4 separate regions of the Homo sapiens genome follow, and all the other regions are linked to region 2. The links are contacts of gene promoters, found by promoter capture Hi-C in blood cells and fetal thymus (Javierre and others, 2016). All regions are on one chromosome and are shown on one strand. Each heading gives the region's core, a stretch centred on a gene start or on the middle of the fragment in contact. The rest is flanking DNA. Distances are from core to core; before and after follow the strand shown.

Evidence for each region. The method cuts DNA at HindIII sites, captures the fragments that hold promoters and counts their contacts. A CHiCAGO score of 5 or more calls a contact.
Region 1: a fragment that was not itself captured here is called in contact with the fragment with the promoter of GADD45A in region 2 in 1 of 17 cell types (erythroblasts); the score reaches 5.6 in erythroblasts.
Region 3: a contact is called between a fragment that was not itself captured here and the fragment with the promoter of GADD45A in region 2, in 3 of 17 cell types (total CD4 T cells, total CD8 T cells and activated CD4 T cells). The highest score is 5.8, in total CD4 T cells.
Region 4: a fragment that was not itself captured here is called in contact with the fragment with the promoter of GADD45A in region 2 in 1 of 17 cell types (naive CD4 T cells); the score reaches 6.2 in naive CD4 T cells.

The regions. Positions count from the first base shown.
Region 1 is chr1:69,539,198-69,542,199 of GRCh38, forward strand. The region is part of intron 3 of LOC105378789 (a long non-coding RNA gene); the gene reads left to right. Among named protein-coding and RNA genes, the nearest start is that of LRRC7, 27 kb to the right of the region's middle. The HindIII fragment of the contact is 1,256 bases long and covers 963-2,218 here.
Region 2 is chr1:67,683,202-67,686,517 of GRCh38, forward strand. It overlaps GADD45A (growth arrest and DNA damage inducible alpha), which reads left to right and starts at 2,000. Exons shown (of 4, transcript NM_001924.4): 1 at 2,000-2,337; 2 at 2,824-2,925; 3 at 3,149-3,316. The coding sequence starts at 2,294. RefSeq lists silencers at 1,664-1,843, 1,854-1,913, 2,104-2,263, 2,734-2,863, 2,934-3,073 and enhancers at 2,971-3,316, 3,174-3,223, 3,254-3,316. The HindIII fragment of the contact is 4,802 bases long and covers 1,091-3,316 here.
Region 3 is chr1:66,273,331-66,276,559 of GRCh38, forward strand. The region is part of intron 7 of PDE4B (phosphodiesterase 4B); the gene reads left to right. Among named protein-coding and RNA genes, the nearest start is that of PDE4B-AS1, 220 kb to the left of the region's middle. The HindIII fragment of the contact is 795 bases long and covers 1,201-1,995 here.
Region 4 is chr1:66,330,697-66,333,731 of GRCh38, forward strand. It overlaps PDE4B (phosphodiesterase 4B), which reads left to right. Exons shown (of 17, transcript NM_002600.4): 8 at 1,812-1,924. Among named protein-coding and RNA genes, the nearest start is that of SGIP1, 200 kb to the right of the region's middle. RefSeq lists enhancers at 2,817-2,876, 2,907-2,956. The HindIII fragment of the contact is 841 bases long and covers 1,366-2,206 here.

The DNA.
Region 1 (3,002 bases), core at 341-2,840, 1.9 Mb after region 2:
AAAGCAAATATTTCCCATCGAGGGTCTCCCCTCTAGCCACTGCCCCATTTTACTCCTTCCTCAACCAAGCTCCTTGGAAAAAAAACTGTGACACTCACTGCTCCCATTTTCTTACCTCCCACTCTTCAATCTCCTAAAACAAGCAAACAACAAACAAAAATGTCTTAACATCCCCAGGAAGTTCATGGATCATTTAGCAGTGCATCCCAATGCACTCATCTTTCTAAACTTTTCACTTGTATTTTACTTGTGGTTCATTTGTTCCTTTTTAAAACTCTACATTCATTCTTAGCATTTCAAGAAAATTTGTATCTTGAAATATTCTTTTTGTCAAAAGGTCTCTGTGATCAAGTTTAAGAGAAAAAAGCAATAGAACACTTTTTTGCAGATCTTTACATACATGATTATATTTAAGTGTAAACGCATACTTTTTTACTCCTCTGTCATAAAAATCATGCTCACTACAATATTTCCATTAGTCTAGCTTCAGGGAATGGAAAATGGAGGGAATATTTTCTCTGGAAGGAGTATTCTATGGATGAAAGGAAATCTGGTCAAATCCTGGGGAAGTGGAAATTTCGCCTCTTTGATTTCAGATAGATACTTGGAAGGACAAGAGATCCTGAAGAGGAGGAATTAAGCGACGGGATGTGTGTGGCCTGTTCTTTCATTTCCAGCCTAAAGTAGGGCTGTTTGCTATGTAGGTGAGGGGAAATTCAGGGGCAGAAAGGCCATTCTGTCATTGGTTTTAGTAGGGAGAACCTCCTGCAAAAGTATTCTGCATAACCAATGGCAACTATATTAATGTGTTTAAACAAAGTCAAGTCAGTGGCATCATGTGTTTGGACAGAGGCTAACAAGAGTTACCCGTCCAGTGTCAATTCCAGCTTGCCCTGTGGGTTTAGCAGGTGGCCAGAAGTTCCAAGTGGCCTTCGAGAGGCACGCAAAGCTGCTGGCTAGCAAGCTTACCCTACGAGTTGCTGTGACTGGGAAAAGTAACTCTGCAGTTGTAGATTAGGGTTCAGTTAAGGTACATCCAGACCTCAAGTGCTGGTGAGGACTAAGATAGGGTCGAGTTATCAGGGAAGACAACAGGCCCTGGCCAAACTCAGAAAAAACATCATATGCTCACCAGCTGCCAACTTGGATAGTAAATTTTAGCTGAAAGAGCAGTGACCAAGTAGACAAGAGAGTAATCGCTACAGAGTCCAAAAGGAACACCCATAGATACAGGGCTCTCTTTCTAAGACAAGAACACAGTAATCTGCTATAGAAATCCAAATGCCATTTGCGGGAAAAGCAGAAGTTTGCAGAACTGTGAAAAACTGAGCATGTACCTATAAGAATTTAAACTAATTTAAACTAAAAATTATTACCACTAGGTAGTTTGTAAATTTAAAATGATCTTTAAAAATAAAAAGCAACTCCCTAACTACCCAGAAAAGTGAGGGTGAATTAGAAATATTAGATTTGAAAATATTTTAAAAGTTCGCATTTTACACTTTACGTGATTGTGCTGAGTGCATTTAAAATGGCACCAAGAAATTCCCCAGATATAATTACAGCAAAACTCTTTCTTTCTTTCTTTGTTTTTAGCACCCATTAGCATGCAATAGAAGAGATATTCTGAGGAACTTACTTGATTACTCTCTGCTCTACAAATTTATTTTCATGATAATTTGCTTTCACAGTTTCTGAATTACTCAGGTTTCTCCAGAGAAATAGAACCAATAGGACAGAGAGAGCCAAGGGGTGTGTGGAGAATAGATATATGCCTGGCAAGTTCACATCTGATCCGAAATGTGGGCCAGTAGGCTTGAGACCCGGGAAACCTGATGGTGCAGGTGGAATCTGAAAGCAGTTTGCTCAAGAATTTTCTCTTCCTTGGGAAGGCTGGGTTTTTTGTCGTATTCAGGCTTTCAGTTGATTGGATGAGACCCACCCACCTTACAGAGAGCAATCTGGTTACCCTAAATTCACTGGTTTAAGTGTTAATATCATCCAATAACAGTTTTGCCCTCATCTTTCTGCCTTTTCATTTGCAACTTCGTCCACAGGTTCCTTTTCCCCTGCTAACTCTCGTTTACTGAGACATCTACTCTTGGTCCCCTGCTCCTTTCTCTCCACAGTCTTTTCACTATTTCATCTAGTCTCACAATTGTAATTGCCGTTTAGACACTAACAATGTAAATCCATCATACCTATGATGTCACCTTTAAGCTTCAGGTGCATATATTTATATTCTAGCAGTACCAATTCATTTGGCATGTCATAAACACAGATTCAACAGCTTCCAAATTAAACTCTCCAAATTTCCCTTTTCCCACTCCACTCCTTATTGCTACCTGCTAACATTCCGTCTATGCCTAATTCATCCCCTAGTCCTGCTGACATAATCTCAGCATTTTAAAGTTGTAACAACTTAGCTGGGCACACAAAGCTCTGAGTGACCTAAAACCCATTTTTTTCTAACTTCATTTTTTGAAATACTGAAGTCTGTACACATGTTTTGTCTCCATACCTTATTTCAGGGTTACTCTTTGGCCTAGAGCACTATCCCATCTCCTGTTTATTCACCTGGGTAACCTCTTTTCAACTCTGGATGTCGTTGCCTGAATCTGCAGACAGAATGACGTGTTTCCCTGTCTTCCTGTGTTCTACTCATTTCCCTCTGCTTGTCTAGCAGAGCACTGACATTAGAAGGCTCAAAATTCTACTCTCAGGGCTAGAATGACTCTAGCATGTTCCTGCTCCTTGAGAGCAGAAGCATTCTACATCTTTCTAGCCTTAGCACCTATCACAATGCCAAGGAGAGAAGGCGGTTACAAAGATTTTTTTTTTAACCTTTGCATTGAATGTACAGGTTAAATTGGCTGACTTTAAAAGGTTTCTGAAGAGCAGTAGTTCTCAGACGTTAAGACCCTTGAATGTCCTTAAGGTCTTTACAAGTAATGTGAAAAGCCAAAACTATTTTCATAATAATATCAAGACATTGTTTGCTT
Region 2 (3,316 bases), core at 750-3,249:
TTTTGAACTAACGTTAAATGTGCAATATGTTAGAATTCATGCAATGCACAGGACTGCAGGATTCTGATATCTTATTTAACTCTCAAATTCTATTCAACTCAATAAACCTTGACTGTGCTTCTACTAAATGCAGGTATTGTACTAGGAGCTGAGGACACCAAACTGATGAAGTCCTTGCTGTCAAGAAACTCACATGATTCCCTAATTCTTTGTCAGCTTGCTGTGATCACATTTTCTTCCCAAGAACCTCTAAGAAATGCCTAGTGGATAGAACCTTGGAGTTCCACGGAACATATTAACAATCGCCAAATGATGACTCAGGCTAGATTGTGTAATTCAGGTTTTGTCTGCAAAACTGAAAATGCTTCGGTAACCTACCTAAATTTCAATGTTGAGGAATTCTTTAAGAAAGACATCAAATGTTAAGATTTAAGGCATAGATATGAGATACATAGTCATGCTTAGGTGAATTATGCACTGACCATGACCATTTCTTTACTCAAATGTTGTCCATGGCTGACAACACAGTGAAAAAATGAGTGCAAAATGACAACTCAAATAAATGAACCAGAAAACCTATCACTTTTCTTTTCCACCAAATTAAGATCAAGAGAGCTGGAGAATATTTTGTCTAGAGTGATAAAAACATAAGGGTGCAAAACTTCCAGGTACCTTTGCAGAAATTACTTCTGTGACCTTTGGCTGTACAGCAACCTTAATAATGCAAGCACTGTTTTGAATGCAAGCATGTGGGAGCCATTTTCACCACTTTTGATGACTTCAGTAGGTTTAAGAAATGTTTTTGCTTTTATTGCATAAACCATAAAACAAAGGAAGGGACTTTTGAACTACTCAGTGAGAGTCTATATATTAAAGTTTGTTTTTCAAAAATGTGTAACTACCATTTGCAGTTTTAAAGGTCTGCTTTCCACCTACAAGTTGCCATTATCTCAAAGGTGAAATTTTAGCATATGACTAAAAACTTCCTATAGTTACAGCTTCATGATTCAGCATCTAACATCAATAATTCACAGTGAGATCATAGGAGGCTCTCTGTGGAAGGTAACGACATACATACGTTAGGAAAGGAAGCTTAGGGCATATCGAGAGCATTTTGAATTTAGACTTGTGGGCTGTGTGGGTGTCAGATGGTTGTCTCTCAGCTGGTGGGCGTCCAGAAGGATCCTTGTTTGGGCAAGGCTCTTTGAGAAAGGAGAATCTGGGTTGCCAGGGATTCCCACATGTGGTCACCAGCTCCCCACGCAGACCAGCTCACGATTTCCCAGTTACACCGGGCAGGTGGGAAACCGTTCTGCTTTCTGTGGAAAAGATTCTAACTTGGTTCCCTGCCATCCCTGAATACAAACGGGTTGGTTTTTCTTTTTTCAGCTTCCAACCCTTGCAGCTTTCCAAAAATAAATCAAACCAGCCATCAGGGCACCGAAATAATACTACTGCTAATAAGCAGCTTCGCCTAGACTTAGATAAACAACACTTCTGAGGTAAACTTTGCCCCGGAGGTCTGGAGACACTTTTTTAATGTAACCTGCTTACTAATAATTACTAGACTTCAGTGCATTAACCCTGGAAATAGATTTTAATAGCCACCCCTTAAAACAAAAGACATGAAAAGATAATAAGAAAAAAGTGCCGCAACTATTATAGAAAAACACTTGGCAGCCTGCTTCAGCCCAAGCTGAGGCCACCTCTAGCCTCTGCTAAAGCCCCCCACTCCCAATGGTCCCCGCCAACCGGATAAGAGTGCGCGCGGGACCCGCCTTCCCCTCTCGGCACCGCCCCCGCCCCCGCCCCCTCGGCTCGCCTCCCGCGTGGCTCCTCCCTTTTCCGCTCCTCTCAACCTGACTCCAGGAGCTGGGGTCAAATTGCTGGAGCAGGCTGATTTGCATAGCCCAATGGCCAAGCTGCATGCAAATGAGGCGGAAGGTGGTTGGCTGAGGGTTGGCAGGATAACCCCGGAGAGCGGGGCCCTTTGTCCTCCAGTGGCTGGTAGGCAGTGGCTGGGAGGCAGCGGCCCAATTAGTGTCGTGCGGCCCGTGGCGAGGCGAGGTCCGGGGAGCGAGCGAGCAAGCAAGGCGGGAGGGGTGGCCGGAGCTGCGGCGGCTGGCACAGGAGGAGGAGCCCGGGCGGGCGAGGGGCGGCCGGAGAGCGCCAGGGCCTGAGCTGCCGGAGCGGCGCCTGTGAGTGAGTGCAGAAAGCAGGCGCCCGCGCGCTAGCCGTGGCAGGAGCAGCCCGCACGCCGCGCTCTCTCCCTGGGCGACCTGCAGTTTGCAATATGACTTTGGAGGAATTCTCGGCTGGAGAGCAGAAGACCGAAAGGTGAGTCGGCCTGCGGACTCTTCCGGCCCGAACTTCTCTTACCTACCCCGCGCTCCCCGGTGCAGCCGGGCTGTGGAAGGCTTGCAGGGGAGGAAGCTAAAAAGTTTGCACAGGGCAACTCCCGCCCTTGCTCCCTCGGGACTCTCCGTGGAGCTCCCACGGACTGAAAGAGCGTGCCCCCCAACCCGAACGAGCCCCGCCGGGGCCTTTGCAAAGGGCAGCAGTGGCCGTCGCTGCCCGTGCGGCTCCCGTGGCTGGCAGCCTGTGGCAGGGGCACTCTCGGGACTTCTCACGGGACGCCCGGTCCTTGGGCGTGCAGGGGTCATGGGGGGTGACGGGGCCGCGGGAGCGCCGGGTTTTCGTAGAGCCCAGGTGCGCGGTGGTGCTTGCATTCGAGAGGGAGGGGCGTGGTACCGGACGAGGGGGGCGGCGATGGCCCCGAGGGCACCGGGGCTGACGGGACCCCTCGCCCTTGCCCGCGTGTAGGATGGATAAGGTGGGGGATGCCCTGGAGGAAGTGCTCAGCAAAGCCCTGAGTCAGCGCACGATCACTGTCGGGGTGTACGAAGCGGCCAAGCTGCTCAACGTGTAAGTGGGGCCCTTGCGCGTCCCCCATGGCACCCCTTCCCGCCCCAGCCCGGGAGGTCGCCTTGGCTGGGCGCCCCTCGCCCGGCCGCGCCACTTCCTGTCGCTTTTCTGCCTGTCTCGGAAGGGAGGGGGCGAGCGGGCCGGGCGGCGACCCCCAGGGACCCGGGCAGTGGTTGAGGGCGCCCGCGCTTCTGCGCTCACTGGCCCCGCCCGCTGCCCCCAGCGACCCCGATAACGTGGTGTTGTGCCTGCTGGCGGCGGACGAGGACGACGACAGAGATGTGGCTCTGCAGATCCACTTCACCCTGATCCAGGCGTTTTGCTGCGAGAACGACATCAACATCCTGCGCGTCAGCAACCCGGGCCGGCTGGCGGAGCTCCTGCTCTTGGA
Region 3 (3,229 bases), core at 348-2,847, 1.4 Mb before region 2:
ATATCATTTACATATTCAGCTCAGGGATTATTTTTCACATTGTCACTGTGAACAAATTCTATATATCATCTGATTCTTGGATTCAGGATTAAAATAAATATATAGTCTCAATTCAGGGCCTGGGCCCTGATATATACTATGTGCATAGGAAATACTACTTCCTTTACCCATTTCCTTCTGGAAAGTGCATTTTAACCCTTCATCTTCTTGATATACCTTCTGCAACTCACCCAAAATTACTGTTAATTATTATCTCAAAATCTCTGTTATTACACTTGTCATACTGTATTGTAATTATTTCATTTTTTCCCATTCTAAACTAAAAGCATCCCAAGTTCAAATACTAATCCTCTTTTTCTATATCCTCAATTTATAACATAAAGCCCGGGACATAGCAAATGCTCAATAAATGTTTATGGACTGAACAAATAGGGATGAAATAATGCCCATGCCTGAACCAGATAAGATTAGAAAGGAAGTGAGGCTCATGTTCAGCTTTGTTAAGGCTTACTGAAATATCTGCTAGCTCTCAGGACATGTGCATAGTGCTGACATCCCTTGCTAATCTTGACAACGTGTGACTTTCAAGGCACTTGAAGTGAACTCTTTGTTATCCATCACTTCAGGAAGAAGTGGCAGTGTTAAAAGAAATGGAAGAAAAACAACTAAATGAATTTTTATCATACTATATTGTTCTCTTAGTGCCTGGCATTGTGCTTGCCACAAAGTAGGCACTCAAGTAGCATATTGAATGGAATTGGTTTGAGAACCCAGTTAATCCTTCAGAGAAGTTACTTCTCTGAGACTCACTTTTCTTGTCTGAAAAATGGGCATTTTTTTTTTTTTTGAGATAGAGTTTCACTCTTGTTGCCCAGGCTAGAGAGCAATGGTACAATCTCAGCTCACTGCAACCTCTGCCTGCCAGGTTCAAGTGAGTCTCCTGCCTCAGCCTCCCAAGTAGCTGGGATTACAGGTATGCGTCACAACACCCAGCTAATTTTTTTTTTTTTTTATATATTTTTAGTAGAGAAGGAGTTTCACCATGTTGGTCAGGCTGGTCTCGAACTCCTGATCTCAGGTGATCCACCCTCCTCGGCCTCCCAAAGTGCTGGGATTACAGGCATGAGCCACTGCGCCCAGCTGAAAATGGGCATTTTAATATTCTATATGTTAAGATTGTTGTAAGGGCTAAATGAGAAAAGCTTTATATAGTGATTAAGAGTGAAGACTCTGGAGTCAGACTGCCTCTTTCAAATTCCAGCCACACCACTTTGTGACCTTGGGACAAATTGCTTAACCTCTCTGTGTCCTAATTGCCTCGTCTCCAAAATTAGGATGGAAATTGTGTGTTTTGGTTGTAAGGATTAAATATGTTAACATGTATAAAGCATGTAGAAAGTCCCAGTGTTAGTATTGGTGTTATTAGTGTTATATAACATGACTCAGATAGTACTCAGCACATAGCAAACCACCAATGTGTGGTAGCTAAGATCCCAGCCTTCTGGTATCAGTAGAGAACCACAACAGAAAGCCCTGTTGAGCTCTTTCTAGAAGGTTCTGGTCTACTTTGCTTCCATAATAATACCATCTGAAGGGAGTAATTTTTGAAGTTTAAGACTTTTTTTTTCCTCCTGAGACTATAGAAATCTTGTTATATAGAAATAGTTTTAGAGCTGAAGGTAGAGTTCTCCAGCTCATACATGGGAAAGCTGAAAAGTCAGGAGGGAGAATGGAGCTGACACCAAATATAAAGGGACACCCCTAAATACAGCTTTTTCTCTTAAAAGCAGAGTGCAAAAAAAGATTGTCAAATTACTTAGGACTTCTGGTAAACCAAATCTTAGTTAACTGAAAGCCCTGTCTTGCATAAGCCTGACAGGATGCCACTTTATATGATAGCATCATTACAGCTTGTACAGCACATCAAAGTTGTATTGAAATACATGTTTCAGGGTTGGTACACACCTATTCAGGCATAGGTGTTACAACCCAGGAAGCTTAGCAGGGAGTAGCGCTAGGAGCTGGTGCAAAGCCTCCCTTTGCAGAGAGGACAAAACCCACTAGCAGAGTCTGCAGGAAGGGAAGAGGATTGGCCCTTTTGGGAAAAACTTTACACCCTCTCCAATTACTGCTGAGAAGGAAAAAGCAACCTCATACCCATCTTAACCCATTCTCCTCTCTTTATTGGAAGGGAGGGAGATAAAAAAGGAGGTTGGAGTTAGCCTAGAGAAGAATGAATATGGAAGTTTGCTAAGAGACAAGGAAGGAAGAGGACCACCGAAGTTCCTTTTTCTGCCTCCTGCTTCCCCAAGTGGGTATGATCCTGGGGGCAGGGTGAATTCTGCTTGCTTGCTTCTGATCAACCCCGAGCCAGCACATTATGAAGTTGCCTCCAGAACTGTTCTCGGAAGCCAGGAGCATTTCAGGGAACAGCCTTTCACCCAAGAGGAGGGAAACAAAGCAGGGACTGTCCCCTCAAAATAGAGAACAGGCAACAGAACTCACTGGATCTTTTTCTTGGTTTATTGTCTTGACTTCCTCCCAGTCAGAGCTGTTGACAAGCACCAAAAGCGACCCCTTGGAGTTTTCTGTATTTTTCCTACCCCCTGTCTGGCTGTGTCCACAGAGTAAGCTGGGACCATGGCGATTATCCAGCTTATTTGAATCTTACAGGCAGCCAGGTCAGATAATGCTATTTTCTCTCTGCCCCCTCAGTTGTATTTGGGGCTTCAAATTTCTAGGGTCTAGTCTGGCTAGCACTGCTGGTCTAATAAACTAGATAATGTCCAAAGCCCACATGTGTGCCTCTGATTTCAGGAAAGGTAAGGGGCTAGTGCTTATTCCATTTCTGGTATGTGCCAGGCACAGTGCTAGCCCCTTTGAATATATCACGTCACCTAATTCTCCAAACTAAACTTCTTTGCGTATATTATTGCCCCTATTTCACATATTTGGAAAAAGAAGATTCAGGAAGTATGTGGGGCTCACTCAAGACCACAAAGTTAGTGATAGAATCAGAACTGAAAGCTAGATCTGTATTTCTTGAAAACCCATGCTCTTTCCTCTGCAGTCTAAACCACACTGTCTCTGCCTCCATCCCACTGTAAACCTCAGATGTTATAGCTTATCAAGAAGGGGATGGGGAAAATGTCATAGCAAGAAAGCGAAGTGACTGGACTACCAACAACCTTAATAATTATTACATACTAGAGGACTTTCTTTAATTTCT
Region 4 (3,035 bases), core at 536-3,035, 1.4 Mb before region 2:
CAGAAAAGGCTTCCTTGGAAGAAGTGCTCTTCTGGAAGCAAACAGAGGAGGCAAGGGGTTGTTTCGGACACACTAGAGAGTAAGTCAGAGAATCTTCGTGTTGAGGCAGCATTGCAAAATTGAAGATGAAGAAAGGAAGGAAGGTATGTGTAAGTCTGGCTTGAAATGAGTTTTATTAAAAACACCTCAATTCTTGTCTGCACATTTTTGAAGAGTGTGAAAAAAAAATGGAGGAAGTTACCTCCAGTGGTTTTGTGGCTTTTTAAGCATGACATACAGGATATTGAATTTAACCCCTGTTTATCTTGAAGTGTATGAATATTTCGGGGATAAACAAAGCAACTATTCTTTGAAATATGCGTCTGTGGCCAAGTGATTCCAGTTACTTGGAATCACAGTTCTGTTGATTCTCTTTTCTGCTTCAAGTATTTGCACACCACAGACATAAGATTATTCATATAATAATTTTTAAAAACCATGTGGTCTTGCTAGAATTTCTGTATAAATGTATAAAAATGTCTTTTAAATATGGCAGGAATGTTATATTAGAACTCCATGTGAGATTTTACATTTTATTAGTGCCTATTGTGTGTTTGTATTTCAGAAATCTTGGTAGAGTTTATAAATGCTATTTCTCTCAAAAACAGTCGTGTATATAGGAGAGTCCAAGTGCTTTTTACAACTCTCTGTAGCTTCATTAATTCATCTAGCATTTATAAAGTTATTTCAGTGCTTATTAAGATAGATTTCTTAAGCCAGTAACCTGAAGTATTTGTTTAGATTCACAAACTTTTGGATATAAAATGACATGTTAAGGATATGTAAAAAGAATTTTAATTATCTAGCAAAAAAATGTGATTTTCACAACAATATTTTTTGTGTGAAATACCAACAATATTTCCAGAAAGTCTAGAGTCTTAGGGCAACAAATTGGAGCCCCCAGCTTTAATCAAAATAAAAATCTGCAGAGTGTTCACATCTGGCTCCACCTGAAAGTCCGGTTCAGAATTTCCCTGTGATCCTGGCACTTGCAGAAGGGAAGTTTTAGCTTTGTTTAGTATAACAAGAGCTGCAGGACTCCCAGGCCAATAAACGTGTTCACGTAAAACTCCAGACAGCTTCTTTTAGACTGGAGTCTTATCAGGGAGACCTCATTTTCCCTCTAATTAAAGGAAAGATTTAAGGGAGAGAAAGGAATAGCCTATGCCTCTTACTTGTGCGGGTCAGTGTTCGCTGAATTAGAAGTTATTCCAACATGAACACAATCCTCAGGATGAATGACTGCCTAGACTTTGAACGTAATGGTCAACCAGTTTTCACCCGAATTTTGACTGTTTCATTTAGAAGAAAAGCAAAATGAGAAAAAGCTTTCCTCATTTCTCCTTGAGATGGCAAAGCACTCAGAAATGACATCACATACCCTAAAGAACCCTGGGATGACTAAGGCAGAGAGAGTCTGAGAAAACTCTTTGGTGCTTCTGCCTTTAGTTTTAGGACACATTTATGCAGATGAGCTTATAAGAGACCGTTCCCTCCGCCTTCTTCCTCAGAGGAAGTTTCTTGGTAGATCACCGACACCTCATCCAGGCGGGGGGTTGGGGGGAAACTTGGCACCAGCCATCCCAGGCAGAGCACCACTGTGATTTGTTCTCCTGGTGGAGAGAGCTGGAAGGAAGGAGCCAGCGTGCAAATAATGAAGGAGCACGGGGGCACCTTCAGTAGCACCGGAATCAGCGGTGGTAGCGGTGACTCTGCTATGGACAGCCTGCAGCCGCTCCAGCCTAACTACATGCCTGTGTGTTTGTTTGCAGAAGAATCTTATCAAAAATTAGCAATGGAAACGCTGGAGGAATTAGACTGGTGTTTAGACCAGCTAGAGACCATACAGACCTACCGGTCTGTCAGTGAGATGGCTTCTAACAAGGTAAGAGATGATCTTTTTATTCATTAAAGTGTGATCATGCAGGGAGCTCCAGCTCCCCTCACCCCTGTCTGCAGCAGAGTGCACCAGGGAATGCTACCAACTCTAAGAATATGTTTGTTGCTTTGTCTAGAAGATTCTCTTCCAAAGTGTCACACTCTACTTGTGTCTTGATGCTACAGCAAAAGTTTAAAATCCTCAGTACGCTTCAATTTCCAGAAACAAAACTTCTCTCTTACTGATGCAGTTTGGAATAGGTTTAAGGTGAGAGATGTCTGTCTGTAAAGCTTCCAAATCAATATAACATTGAAAGTGCTTTAAAATTTTTTTACAATTATCAGGAAGCTAAAATCTGAGTTAGTCTTGTTGCATTGCAATCAGGTGTCACATATTTATTTTTAAACAAGAAAGTAGTTTAACCTTCATATATCAATGGGAAAGAATGGTCTGTGTTGAAGTTTGATAAATTCCCTCTAAAAAGAAGGATATCCTGGGATTTTCTAAGATTTCTTTTGCGATGCTGGCATGACCTAAGATAAAAAAGAAACAATATGCTTTGTCTCCAAAACCAGAGGTTTTCTTTAAGTTTGCTGATTTTCATAGTGAAATCATTTGAAATTGCTTCATGCATACTGCCCCCAAAATGGTTTTATTTACAATCCCCAGACAAAGCTTAATGTTGAAGAGCCTTAATTATCTATCATTATATCATTTGTTTAATTAACACCTGGACTTAGAATGCTAATTTATGTAGTGAGAGTTGTTGCTTTTTGTTTGTATTTTTACCTTGGAGAATATTATATTAAATACATATTGCTATAAAGTTATACAAAGTTATATATGTGTGTGTACACACACACACACACACATACACTTTGTTAAAAAGCCTTACACCATACCCTCATAGGTGCACATTTCAGAGTCCCAGTCATTCTAGCCTGAAGTATCATCTTGTTGTCTACGTTTCTGGGGCTGAGAAGATATTTTGCTCCACACCTGCCAGCATGCCCTTTCCAGCCCTGAGGTGCACCAGTGAGTGTGTGTCCCTTCTCCAGCTTTCCTGGGGTAAAAGTACCACCTTTGGATCAAGGCTTGCTGGCTGCGGCTCAGAGGA